Regions from separate parts of the Homo sapiens genome. Here region 1 is linked to region 2. Evidence: promoter capture Hi-C in 16 types of primary human blood cells and fetal thymus (Javierre and others, 2016). All regions are on one chromosome and are shown on one strand. Each heading gives the region's core, a stretch centred on a gene start or on the middle of the fragment in contact. The rest is flanking DNA. Distances are from core to core; before and after follow the strand shown.

What was found. Contacts are between HindIII fragments. The CHiCAGO score rates a contact against its expected background, and 5 or more counts as called.
Region 1: a fragment that was not itself captured here is called in contact with the fragment with the promoter of KLK11 in region 2 in 1 of 17 cell types (activated CD4 T cells); the score reaches 5.8 in activated CD4 T cells.

The regions. Positions count from the first base shown.
Region 1 is chr19:50,251,148-50,257,739 of GRCh38, forward strand. It overlaps MYH14 (myosin heavy chain 14), which reads left to right. Exons shown (of 43, transcript NM_001145809.2): 16 at 1,492-1,606; 17 at 4,073-4,171; 18 at 6,152-6,339. Among named protein-coding and RNA genes, the nearest start is that of MYH14, 51 kb to the left of the region's middle. The HindIII fragment of the contact is 7,915 bases long and covers 16-6,592 here.
Region 2 is chr19:51,024,736-51,030,863 of GRCh38, forward strand. KLK11 (kallikrein related peptidase 11) reads right to left here and starts at 1,881. Exons shown (of 6, transcript NM_001136032.3): 1 at 1,803-1,881; 2 at 857-931; 3 at 1-59. The coding sequence starts at 896. KLK12 (kallikrein related peptidase 12) reads right to left here. Exons shown (of 6, transcript NM_001370125.1): 5 at 6,053-6,128; 6 at 4,359-4,722. The coding sequence ends at 4,567. RefSeq lists enhancers at 960-1,518, 1,519-2,076, 2,636-3,192 and a silencer at 5,225-5,456. The HindIII fragment of the contact is 2,362 bases long and covers 1,155-3,516 here.

The DNA.
Region 1 (6,592 bases), core at 2,723-5,222, 770 kb before region 2:
AGAAGTACCTGGGAAAGCTTCACAGAAGAGAATATGCTCAATCTCAAATCTCAGTCAAGGGCCGGCAAACATTTTCTGTAAAGGGTCCGATAGTAAATAGTTTCAGCTTTGTGGGCCAGACGATCTCTGTCACAGCTACACAATTCTGCTGTGGTCACACAAAAAGAGCCACAGATAATACATAAGTATCTTCAAGCCCCCAGGGAAAAAGAAAGGAAAAACAGACTGAGAAACAGTTTCGAGGGCTCTCTTGCCCCCAGAAGGGCCCCCATGAGTTTGACTATGAAGACATAAATGAAGGTTCTATTCCTATATATATATACACATATATATATACACACATATATATATACACACATATATATATACACACTACACACACACACACACACACACACACACACACACACACACACACACACATATATATATGTATTTTTTTTTATTTGAGACAGAGTCTCCCTCTGTTACCCAGGCTGGAGTGCAGTGGCACGATCTCGGCTCACTGCAATCTCCGCCTCCTAGGTTCAAGCAATTCTTCTGCCTCAGCCTCCCCAGTAGCTGGGATTACAGGCACCTGCCACCATGCCTGGCTAATTTTTGTATTTTTAGTAGAGACAGGGTTTCACCATGTTGGCCAGGCTGCTCTCGAACTCCTGACCTCAGTTGATCCACCCGCATAGGCCTCCCAAAGTGCTGGGATTACAGGTGTGAGCCACCGCGCCCAGCCCTATTCCAGTGAAAGTATTTGCAAAAAGAGGTGGCAGGCTGGATTTTGCCTGTGAGCCATAGTTTGCTGACCCCTGGTTTTGATGATGTGGACCAGGCAGCCCCAGAGGATGGGTGAAGGGTGGGAAGGGCTCTCCAGGCAGAGGGAACAGCATAGACAATGGCTGGGAGGCAGGAGATTCCATGTGTTCTGTGTCTAGCCCTCAGTTTCTTCCCCAGACATACTCCAGAACTCCCCCTGTACCCAGCCCTCTGCTAGGCCGTGAGTCAGACCTGGGCCCTGCCCTCGGGGGACCGCTGTCTGGTGGGGGGCACATATGCAGAGAATTGTAGCGGCCAAGATCGTGACTCTATGGAGCCCCACAGCAAAGCCCTGAGTACCCAGAAGGAGCCAGTGGTGTGAAACCCACAGAGACAGAACCCCAGGTGGCAGGAACCGCAGGGGTAAAACCCCGAGGTGGGAGTAAGCTCGCATGTTTGAGGAACAGTGCGGAGGCCAGGGTGGCTGGAGCGGAATGAATAGGAAGAAAGTGGTGGTGGTGGAGGTCACAGAGGTGGCAGGGGGCATAGAGGGGAAGGAGAGAGAGGGGACCATGCTGGTGGGGTGCAGTTCAGAATATGGACACAAGGTGGCACCAGTGCTCGCTTGTCCATGGTGAGCTCCAGACCTGGGAGTCTCAGAGCTTCTGGAAGGCTCCTTAGGAAATCCAGAGAATGTCTGAGCCTGCAAGTCATCGCCCTCCTCTACCTGACTTCATTCAGGTCGACTACAAGGCCAACGAGTGGCTGATGAAAAACATGGACCCTCTGAATGACAACGTCGCAGCCTTGCTCCACCAGAGCACAGACCGGCTGACGGCAGAGATCTGGAAAGACGGTGAGGACCCACTTCCCCCACCCCGGCTCTAGGGGTCTGTGCGGCCATTCTCCAAATCCACAGCGTGAGCACCTTTGTTTCAGAGGCGGAGGTCTGAACCTGAGTTTTCTGCTCAGACCCAGAATAGCCAGTGTCACAAATAGTATTTCAAATCAGTGATGGATGGATCCATAGATTAATTGATTGACTATTGATTTGATTGATAAGCCAGCATCCTTCTCAAGGATAAAGCACTCCGCCTTAATCAGAAACGTGGCAAAGATACCCACTAACACTACTGTTAAACATCGTTTTTTTAGCAATACTAGCCTATGCAATCAGACCAGAAAAAGTATGAATATCGAACAGGAAGAAGTAAACTTATTATTTTTAGATGGCCTGTGTTCCCTAAACAATTAGGAGATTTGGCTGGGCATGGTGGCTCACACCTGTAATCCCAGCACTTTTGGGAGGCCAAGGTGGGCGGATCACTTGAGGTCAGGAGTTCAAGACCAGCCTGGCCAACATGGTGAAACCCTGTCTCTACTAAAAGTACAACAATTAGCCAGATGTCCTGGTGCATGCCTGTAGTCTCAGCTACTAGGGAGGCTGAGGCAGGAGAATCGCTTGAATCTGGGAGGTAGAGGTTTCAGTGAGCCAAGATTGTGTCACTGCAATCCAGCCTGGGTGACAGTGTGAGACTCTGTCCCAAAAAAAAAAAAAAAATTCTACTGAGAAATAATTTATAACAATAAGAGAACACAGAATGATGATCTTTTGCAGGTCAGTCAACTTTTAGGCTTTGCTTTCTTTGTTTTCTTACAAAGTTCCCTTCACGCCCCCAGGGAAGAAGAAAGAAAAAACAGACTGAGATACAGTTTTGGAGGGCTTTCCTGCCCCCAAAAGGCCCCCATGAGTGTGACTGTCTTTTTGGATTGACACTTCTAGGGGTCATAGGCAGAGATGCCAAATGCCCTGTGGTAGGACTCTGACCTTTTCCAAGCCTTTTCTGCCACTGCCCCTGCCCCCCCATCCTTAGAGGAGGTTTGAGAAATGGTTTTAGAAAGCTGGCAGAACTGGCATCCTGTTTTTTCCAGGTTCCAAGTTTCTGGCATTTGTCAGTTTGCCTTAATCTTTTATTGACATGAAAAGGTAGCTGTAGAAATACCAGTCCATGCAATTTGGCAAGAAAACAAAATGAGCGGCCAGGCGCGGTGGCTCACGCCTGTAATCCCAGCACTTTGGGAGGCCAAGGTGGACGGGTCACCTGAGGTCGGGAGTTTGAGACCAGCCTGACCAACATGGAGAAACCTCATCTCTACTAAAAATACAAAATTAGCTGGGCGTGGTGGCACATGCCTGTAATCCCAGCTACTCGGGGGGCTGAGGCAGGGGAATCGCTTGAACCCGGGAGGTGGAGGTTGTGGTGAGCCGAGATCGTGCCATTGCACTCCAGCCTGGGCAACAAGAGTGAAACTCTGTCTCAAAAAAAAAAAAAAAGGAAAAAAAAAGAAAACAAAATGAGCAAGGTGAGTGGTTCCCAAAACACACTCACAGAGCAAAACAGCATGGAGGGTCTTGATCTTGTGAGCTCATGCTAGAAAGATAGATTTTATTTTTATGTCTCATATAGTATTTACACAAGGAGATTGGAAAGCAGAGTTTGATGTTCAGGAACAGAACCAGATTATGCTACGAGAATCATCTCCCGGCTGAAAATCTGCTGCCCTTTTAAAATATTTGTGCTGTCTTCATAAACACATGATTCTCCACAGTGAGCCCTCATTTGTCACACTCTGTGTGTGCCTGACTCTCAGAGGGTTCCAAAAGAAAAAGTGGAAGCTGCAAAACCTCCTGGCTCAGCCTCCCGAGTAGCTGGGGAGCTGCCATAATGTCACTTCCTCCATAATCCTCCTAAACAAAGCTAGTCACAAGGTCTTCCCAGATTCAAGGAGCTGCAAGACACAGGCAAAGGGTGTCAATACAGGGGAAAGTGGGGAATCGGGGCCATTTTTGCCCAATCTCTGCTAGAGCTGCTTTGAGCCCAGAATTGGATGCCCAGCATCCTGACAGCCCAGGGAAAAACGGAAATGAGATTAGCTCTCCTCTGAGAGGCAAAAACAACAAGTGGCCTGGGAGCATCAAGTTCATTCTTGAGCTTCCTGGCAGCCAGAGCAAAAAGGGCAACCTACTAAAACAGACACAACCTCTAGAGGGAGAGATTTTTTATTCTTTGCACTGAATTCTTACAGAGGACATTCGTCCTTTTGGCCAACAGTGTGTGGATACAAAGATGAACAGGAGTTCAGAAGTTTATGGCCAACATTCTGGTTTTCCATCTTGCTTTGCTCTGTACTGTTGACTAATAACCCTCTCCTCTTTTTCTTCCTGCCACCTCCTCTCCTTCCCCTCTTTTCATGCATCTCTCTCCGCCATCTCTCTGCCATCTCCCCTCCACCCACCCACACATCTGTCCTCACTCCCCAGAACATGGGGGCTTCCAGCAGTTCTCTTTCCTTGGCTCCTTCCCACCGTCGCCCCCAGGATCTGCAGAGAGGTGCAGCTCTGCTATTTCTCCGCCAGGGGGTGGGTGTCTCTGTGCATCGATGGGTGAGGCTTGCTGGAGGAGGAGGGTGGACCTGTTGGGCTGGGGACCTGGTTTTGAACATCTGTCCCCTCTCCTCTTACTGTGGAGGTCTCTCACTCTTCCTTTCCCTCCTTGTTGGCTCCCTTGGAAGTTTCCAGACTCTGTAGCAGCAGAACCCCTTCTTCTAACTAAACTGCATGTAAAAGTACAAACAAGCGTGATAGTACCAGCTCGCGTTTCTTGAGCACTTACTATGTGCCGTTCACCATGTGAAACCCCTTTAGAATTATCAACACCCCATTACACAAATGAGGAAACTAAAGCACAGAGAAGTTAAGTAACTTGCTGAGGTCACACAGCCAGTAAGTGGCAGAGCTGGGATTTGAACCCAGGACATCAGATTCCAGAACTTTAGTTCTTATCTGTGCTATGAGGACTTAATAAATGATAATTATCATTTTGAAAATGACAGGGAGTACGGGGTAGGGGAGACGGTTGAACCTGGGGAAGAAAATAACATATTTGAGCCCCTGCCATGACCTGGCCCTGCCCTAAGCACAGATTATCTAGTTGACGGTTGATGGCGCTTGAATGGGATGAGTTTTGCAGGACATCAGATTCTGCCCTAGCTGTGGGTTCCTGAGGAACCTGGCATGATTCAACACATAGAATTTGGGACCAGGTGCATTGGCTCACCCCTATAATCCCAGCGCTTTGGGAGGCCGAGGTGAGAGGATCACTTGAGGACAAGAGTTTGAGATTAGCCTGAGCAACACAGGAAGACCCCGTCTCTACAAAATAAATTTAAAAATTGGTGGGCATGGTGGTGTGCGCCTGTAGTCCAAACTACTTGGGAGGCTGAGGTAGGAAGATCACTTGAGCCTAGGAGGTTGAGGCTGCAGTGAGCTGTGATCACTCCACTGTACTCCAGCCTGGGTGACAGTGAGACTGTGTCTCAGAAAACAAACAAACAACAGAATTCGAGACAGTGCCAATAGAAGGAATGGATATTTTTCACTACCCAAAGCAGCACCGCCAAGCGGCACTAGAGAAAATAGAATCTTTTTGTTGAGACAGAGTCTAGCTCTGTTGCTCAGGCTGGAGTGCAGTGACACAATCTTGGCTCACGGCAACCTCTGCCTCCCAGGTTCAAGTAATTCTCCTGCCTCAGCCTTCCAAGTAGCTGGGATTACAGGCATGTGCCACCACACCTGGCTTAATTTTTTGTATTTTTAGTAGAGATGGGGTTTCACCATGTTGGCCAGGCTGGCCTCGAACTCCTGACCTTAGGTGATCCACCCGCCTTGGCCTCCCAAAGTGCTGAGATTACAGGCATGAGCCACCGCACCCTGCCAAGAAAATAGAACCTCTATGAAATTAGGCTCTTCTGGAAAAATGGTTAAAATAGAGACAGTTTGCCCTATTTCAAATATTGCATATAATGCAAGAATTTATTACATCTTTTAATATGTTTCAGATTCCTAAAATGCAACTGCAGTGGTTATGTTATCACTGTTTTCTCTCTCTATGCCTCAGTTTCCAAATCTGTAAAATGGGAATGATTCTTACAGGCTTATAAAGCCATTGATGTAAATTGCTTTGAGCAATGCCTGCCAGAGTATCTATGCTAGGTAAGCATTTGCTGTTATTGTCATCATTTATTGATAAGGAAAACAGAGATCATGTCCTTGAAGAGAAGAAGGGTCAAAGACCAGAGTTTGAGAGGACTCCTACTGTCTGAGTTCTAATCTCGGATCTTCAGTTTCTAAGCTGTGTGACCTTAAGCACATTCTCCCACTCTTCAGAGCCTCAGTATGTCCATCTGTCCAATGAAGCTGATATCTACCTTACAGGCTGTGTGAGGTCCTTCATATGTAAAGTGCCAGTTGTGATAAATGATAAGACCCTTGACCTTTGGCCCAGGTCCCTAAAACTGACCCTGACCTCCTTCTCTCTCTCTCTGCATCTCCATCTGACAGTGGAGGGCATCGTGGGGCTGGAACAGGTGAGCAGCCTGGGCGACGGCCCACCAGGTGGCCGCCCCCGTCGGGGTATGTTCCGGACAGTGGGACAGCTCTACAAGGAGTCCCTGAGCCGCCTCATGGCCACACTCAGCAACACCAACCCCAGTTTTGTCCGCTGCATTGTCCCCAACCACGAGAAGAGGGTGAGTGACTCAGCCTGGGGAGGAAGGGGTGGCTGTGGCTGTGGGTTAAGGTTTGGCCTCTGGACTTGGCTGGAGCCACATCTGATTCGAGGACCCTCAAATTAGCTGTGTGGCTTTGAGCAAATTGCTTCTATTCCTAGGCTCAGGGTCCGGTTGGGAAAATTCATGCATTCATATGACTTAATGTATTAAGCATCTACTGTGCTGGGAACAGGTACTGGGGAGGCATTGGAGAGAAAGGCACAGCCAACTC
Region 2 (6,128 bases), core at 631-3,130:
CTGGGAGTGAGGCTTGCACTCGAACCCCTTGATGATCCTGGTCTCTCCCCCTACAAGCCCTGGAGGGGGTGAGAGCAAAAGAAGGGGCTCAGGAAGGAGAGGTGGTAGACCAGGAGGACTCCCAGAAATGGGGGTGGGGAGGAGAGAAAGAGAGTGGGTGGTCTGGGCCCTGGTCTGGTGTCCCTCTGGGTTGCCCTGGATGCTGGGGTCGGGTATTAAAGGATGAAAATACTTCCATAAGGTCAAATGCAGTGGCTCATGCCTGTAATCCCAGCACTTTGAGAGGCTAAGGTGGGAGGATTACTTGAGCCCAGGAGTTCTAGATCAGCCTAGGCAAACATAGTGAGACCTCCTCCCCCATCTCTACAAACAATTAAACAATTAGCCTGGCTTGGTGGCAGGTGCCTGTGGTCCCAGCTACCGGGGAAGCTGAGATGGCTTAAGGATCACTTAAGCCCGGGAAGTCAAGACTGCAGTGAGCCGTGTTGGCACCACGGCACTCCAGCCTGGACAATAGAGCAAGACTTTGTCTCTGGGAAAAAAAAAAAAGGAAATACTTCCATACTGGTTGGTCAGTAGCCCCTGTCCTGGGCGCTTTGAGTGACTGCTCCCCCAACTCCAGCTTCCTCAGCCCCTCCACGGGACCCTTTACGACCCCCTTGACCTCTCCTCCTTTGGCATTTAAAGGGATTATCTAGAAGGGCATCCAGGCCCTCATGACCACTGCTCCAGTTCAGGTGCCTTATGGGTTGTTCTGTAATTTGGAATCAGCCCTGTCACTGTCCAGACACAGAGGGTTAGGGGATCCCAGAGATTCAAGAGGGAGGATCCTGCCCTGCCCCCATCCCCTGCGTACCTGTTGCCAGAGCAAGCAGGATTAACTGCAGAATCCTCATGGCCTGGAGGGGGGAGGAGCGGGCCCCAGGTTCCTCTGGGAACAAGGAGGGACATGGGGCCGCATCACTTTACGGGGAAATCGGGAGGGGGGGGCTGGCTCATGCCCTCTCCTCTCTCCCTCACCTGCTCCCGCTCCCCACTTGGGAGAAACAAGGTTGGGGAAATCCCCTGTTTCTCACAGCACTCAGATCTCCAAACACTTAAAATATATCTTAGGTGTCTAGGGTGGCCTTGGAGAGGGCCTGGTCACAGCTAGAAGCTTCCGAGATACCAAGAACCATGTGGAAGTCGTTGGGAGGGGCTTTGAGCTGTCAAGCCATGGTTCGGCCCTGTTCAAGTCAGCCATGGGACCTCCCCGGCACATGTCAGAGGATGTTTTCCTTCTTGCCTTGAGAGCTGGCCAGGCCCCAGCAGCTTGGGGTGGAAGGACAAGGGGAACCAGACACCGTTCCGTAGCCACCCCTTTTTCATTGTCTTCGCAGCAGAGCGATATGGAGCCTTTGAGGTCTGCTGGAGGGGAGTAGGGGGCTCAGCCCCAGACAATGTCTGGGACCCCCATCACCCGGCTTGCTGAAGCCCTGTCCGCCAAACCCCTGCCCTTTTGAAGGACAGCCAAGCAAAGCTGGGCGGGGCTGGTCGAGGGGAGGGCCAGTGCCCTCCGCTGCCCTGGCCAGCGGGGGTGGGAGCAGAGGGCCAGCTCAGCAGCTGAAGCCATGGAGATTAGAGGTAACTGAGGCTGCGGACAGCCATCGGAGGTGAGAGGTGTAGAGAGAGGCCAGGAACCCCCACCCAAGCAGAGAAGGACAGAGCAGAGGGAGAAATGGGTGCCCGAGTGGGACAGGTGTCCTTGGGGAGGGCTGACACCTGGACGGGGAGGGGCAGCTTCCCTTTCCTCCTGGACTCACAGGCTCTGGGGCTGGGGCTCTGGGGGCCCAGTGGCGGCGGAGACGGCAGTGGCGGCAGCTACAGCAGGTAGGCTGGGTTGGAGCGCCAGGTGCCAGGCACCAGGCAGGCGGGCTGGCAGGGGGGCGGCCCTGGGCGGGCCCAGGATGACTGGCCTCCAAGCCCTGCCTTAATGCCCCGGGGCGGGGTGTGTGTGAGGGCCCTCCCCGGAGGCCTCTGAGGCACTGGCTGCCTGCCTGTGCCACCTCTCCAAGCCCCTCTTCTCCCTGTGTCTCAGCCTCCCTCTGTCTGTCTGTCTGTCTGCAGCCTTCCTTTCCCTGCCCTGAGTCTCTGAATCTGTGTCTCGTTCTATGTGTCATTCCCTGTCATTCAGTAATTCTGACTTTGTGTGATTTTTCTCTTTCTGTCCCTATGTGTCTGTCTGCCTTTCTCTGTCCTCGTCCCTGTCTCCATCTCCACTCTTCTCTCTCTGTCTGGCTCTGTGTGGCCCTTTCTCTAATTCCTTCTATCTTTGTGTCTCTCAGTCAGTCTCTCTGACTGCATCTCTGGCAATTTGTCTTGAAATCCCTCTTCTTCCATCTAATCTCCGTCTCTCTTTTTCCTCCCGTCCCAGCCACTCCCTCTCCACAGCCCCAGCCCAGGTGGGCCCCTGGCCTCCCCTAGGCCGCTCCCTTCTCCTTTGCAAGGAGAGGGGGGGTGTGCTGGGATGTCACACAGGTGGGGCTGCTGCCAGGCACAGGGGCAGGACCGGAGGGTGGGGGAGGCAGGTCAGGGCCTGTGGAAGCCGAGTCCAGGAAAGGGAACAGAGCCCTTGGCTGTGCTCCACCCCAGGGCTCCTCTGGGGCCTCGCTCCTCTGCTGACCCTTCCCCTGCCCGCTTCTCCCTGCCGCCCAGGCAGCCCGAGTCCAGCTGTTCACTTACTGGCTGCTGTGAGACCTCTGCCCGATGACTTCCAGTCCCGCAGCCACCTCAACCTCTGCATCTGCGGAACCCGAGCGCAGATTCCTGCTTCTCCCAGCTTGTTTGTTTTCAGTTAGGTCCCTTCCCTTGGCTTTCCTCCCCTCTCTCCCCTGACCAGGTGTGGAGCAAGGCAGGGGAGGGCCTAGGTTCTGACAGCAGCCAGCCCTGGCCTCAAACCTAGGTGCTTCCTCTTCCTACTACTATGACTACCCTTATGACGTGGGGACAAGGGACTCCACCCCTGCAAGGCTCAGTTTCTTCATCTGAGAGATGGGGGTGACAGACCTGCTTGCAGGGGAGGTTGGGATCAGGCTTCCAGGAGGGTCCACTTGGAAAGAGCAGACTGCGGGGGGGCTCAGCAAATGTGCCTCCGCTGGTATGATCACCCCTCACTCCCTCCCTCCTCCAGTTTCCCTTCAGTGCATTTGGGGAGATGGTCTCTCCTCACCTCTTGAGTCCCAGTGGAGACAGAATCCAAGGGGTGGGCAGGAGGATTAAAGACGTAGGCTGAGCTCTCCTGCTTTCCAAGCCTGCACTCCACCCTTCGTCTTATTAGAACAAAGCCACGTCCCACATTAAAGATACAATGTATGCTTCATTACAAGAAAGTAAACTGCAGTTGGCTAGTGGAAAGAATGCTACGTTTTATGGACATTGGATTAAATGGTCATAAATGTTGACTTTGCAGCTTTCATCTGGTATTTTGGAGCTAACAATTTTCTTTTTCTTTTTCGGGTCTTTTGTGGACTCTTGAAAAGCTTATAAGCTCTGGGCACTATTTCTATTATGCCAGATGAAGAAACATGTGTCTTATTTATATTGCTGGGTTTTTGTTTTTGAGACAAGGTCTCACTTTATTGCCCAGGCTGGAGTGCAGTGGCATGATCTCGGCTCTTTGCAGCCTCCACCTCCCCGGCTCGGGTGATCCTCCCACCTCAGCTTCCCAAGTAGCTGGGACTACAGGCACGCACCACCACACCCAGCTAATTTTTTGTGTTTTTGTAGTGACAAGATTTCACTGTGTTGCCAGGCTGATCTCGAAATCTGAGCTCAAGCCATCCTCCCACCTCGGCCTCCCAAAGTGCTGGGATTACAGGCGTGGGCCACTGCACCCGGCCTATATTATTAAAAGTAACTTTTTCTACTCCATTTCTGAGTAACTACTCAGGGAAGACCCTCATCCTATTTGAGCACTGGGTTTTTTGTTTGTTTGTTTTTGAGATGGAGTCTCGCTCTGTCGCCCAGGCTGGAGTGTAATGGTTCAATCTCGGCTCGCTGCAGCCTCTGCCTCACGGGTTCATGCTATTCTCCTGTCTCAGCCTCCTGAGTAGCTGGGATTACAGGCATGCGCCACCATGCCTGGCTAATTTTTGCATTTTTAGTAGAGTTGGGGTTTCACTATGTTGACCAGGCTGGTCCCGAGTTCCTGACCTCAGGTGATCCACCTGCCTCAGCTTCCCAAAGTGATGGGATTACAGGTGTGAGCCACTGTGCCTGGCCTTATTTGAGCTCTGTTTCTACTCCTATGAGATAGGGAAACTGCTGAGTCCTTCTTCCAGTCTCAACCAGCATGAGGACTTCAAATGGACAGACATGGCCCCTCCTTCATTTATATTTATTCCAGACTATTGCACACTTCTCTCACCCCGCTCGTGGGTCTTAGAAGGGCTGGCAGGAGTTAAAGTTCCAAGAAGTTCCCAGGCCAACAAGAGTGGAGCTAGGGGAAGTGATGGAGGAGATATTGGTGCTCTGAGGGCCAGAGGGGTACCCAAGTTAAGGGGTGGGGGTGGAGGTGGAGGAAACAGGTCAGTTGTTCCTCATGATCATCCGGATCCAGTCCACATACTTGCAAATATAGGTGTAGACTCCAGGGATGCCATCTTGTCCACAGGGCCCCACAGACCCCCAGGACACCAGACCTTGAAGGACTCCCCCACACACCAGGGGGCCCCCAGAATCACCCTGGAAGGGAAGAGAAGTACTGTCTGAACAAGGGAGACATCTTATTTCTGTTTTCCTCCCCAACCCTTCAACCCAGTCCTGGGCCTTGGGGAGGGCTCCAAGTCTGGTCATTAGACAAAAGAGTATAATCACTTTCCCGGAGGACAATGGCAATGGCTAACCAAAAGAGAAGAACCACTGTCTCTAGGGGCCAATCCCAGGGAAGAAGGGTGGAACTCCATAAAGGACAGAGGTTCTCTCAAGGACAATGGCTGGGGCCCTGACCAATGAGGAGAGAGAGCACAGTCATTAATGACCAATCTCAGGGGAGGCTGTCAAGACAACATAAAGAGTCGAGCATTCTCTCAAGGACAATGGCTGGGGCCCTGACCAATGAGGAGAGAGAACACTATTATCAATGACCAATCCCAGGGGAGGAGGGTGGGACTCCATAAAGGATAGAGGTTCTCTCAAGGACAATGCCTGGGGTTCTGACCAATGAGGGGAGAGAGTGCCATCAAAAATGACCAATCCCAGGGAAGGTGGGCAGGACTCCATCAAAAGCACAGAGTTCTCTCAAGGACAATGGCTGGGGCCCTGACCAATGAGGGGAGAGACCGCCATCCTCAAATCTCTCTCAGTCTGGGACAGCACCAACTGGAGGATGGTATGGGAAAGACTTAGAGCCCCAGAAACAGCTGGTTCCCTGTCTGGGCTCCCAGTCCTCTCCGTCTGTTTTGCTGTCTCTCTCTGTAACCCCTGCCCCATCTTTCCTTCTCTGTTCCCTTCCTCCCTCTCTCTCCCTGCCCCTCCCCCTCCTCCATTCCCCGGTCCTCCCTTTTACTCCCTGTCTCTCTCCCTCCCTTATCCTGGGCCTCTCCTCCATTATTATTATTATTATTATTATTATTATTATTAATTATTTTGTTTTGAGACAGAGTCTGGCTCTGTCGCCCAGGCTGGAGTGCAGTGGCGTGATCTCAGCTCACTGCAACCTCCGCCTCCCGGGATCAAGCGATTCTCCTGCCTCAGCCTTCCAAGTAGCTGGGGCCACAGGCTTGCACCACCACCCCCGGCTAATTCTGGTATTTTTAGTAGATTCAGAGTCTCACCGTGTTGGCCAGGCTTGTCTTGAACTCCTGACCTCAAGTGATCCGCCCGCCTCGGCCTCCCAAAGTGCTGGGATTACAGGTGTGAGCCTCCGTAACCAGCCTCTCCCTTCCTTTTTGACCCCGTCTCTCTGCAGCATCCCCTTTCCCTGATTCATCCTCCATCAGTTCCCCTCCTGCTTCCAGCCCCTCCCCTTCACTTCCTGTCCTGGTGACCACGCACGCTGCCTGCACTGGCTCACCTGGCAGGCATCCTGCCCCGGGACGCCGCCTGCACACACCATGTTGCTCGTGATTCTCCCGGGATACACACCATGG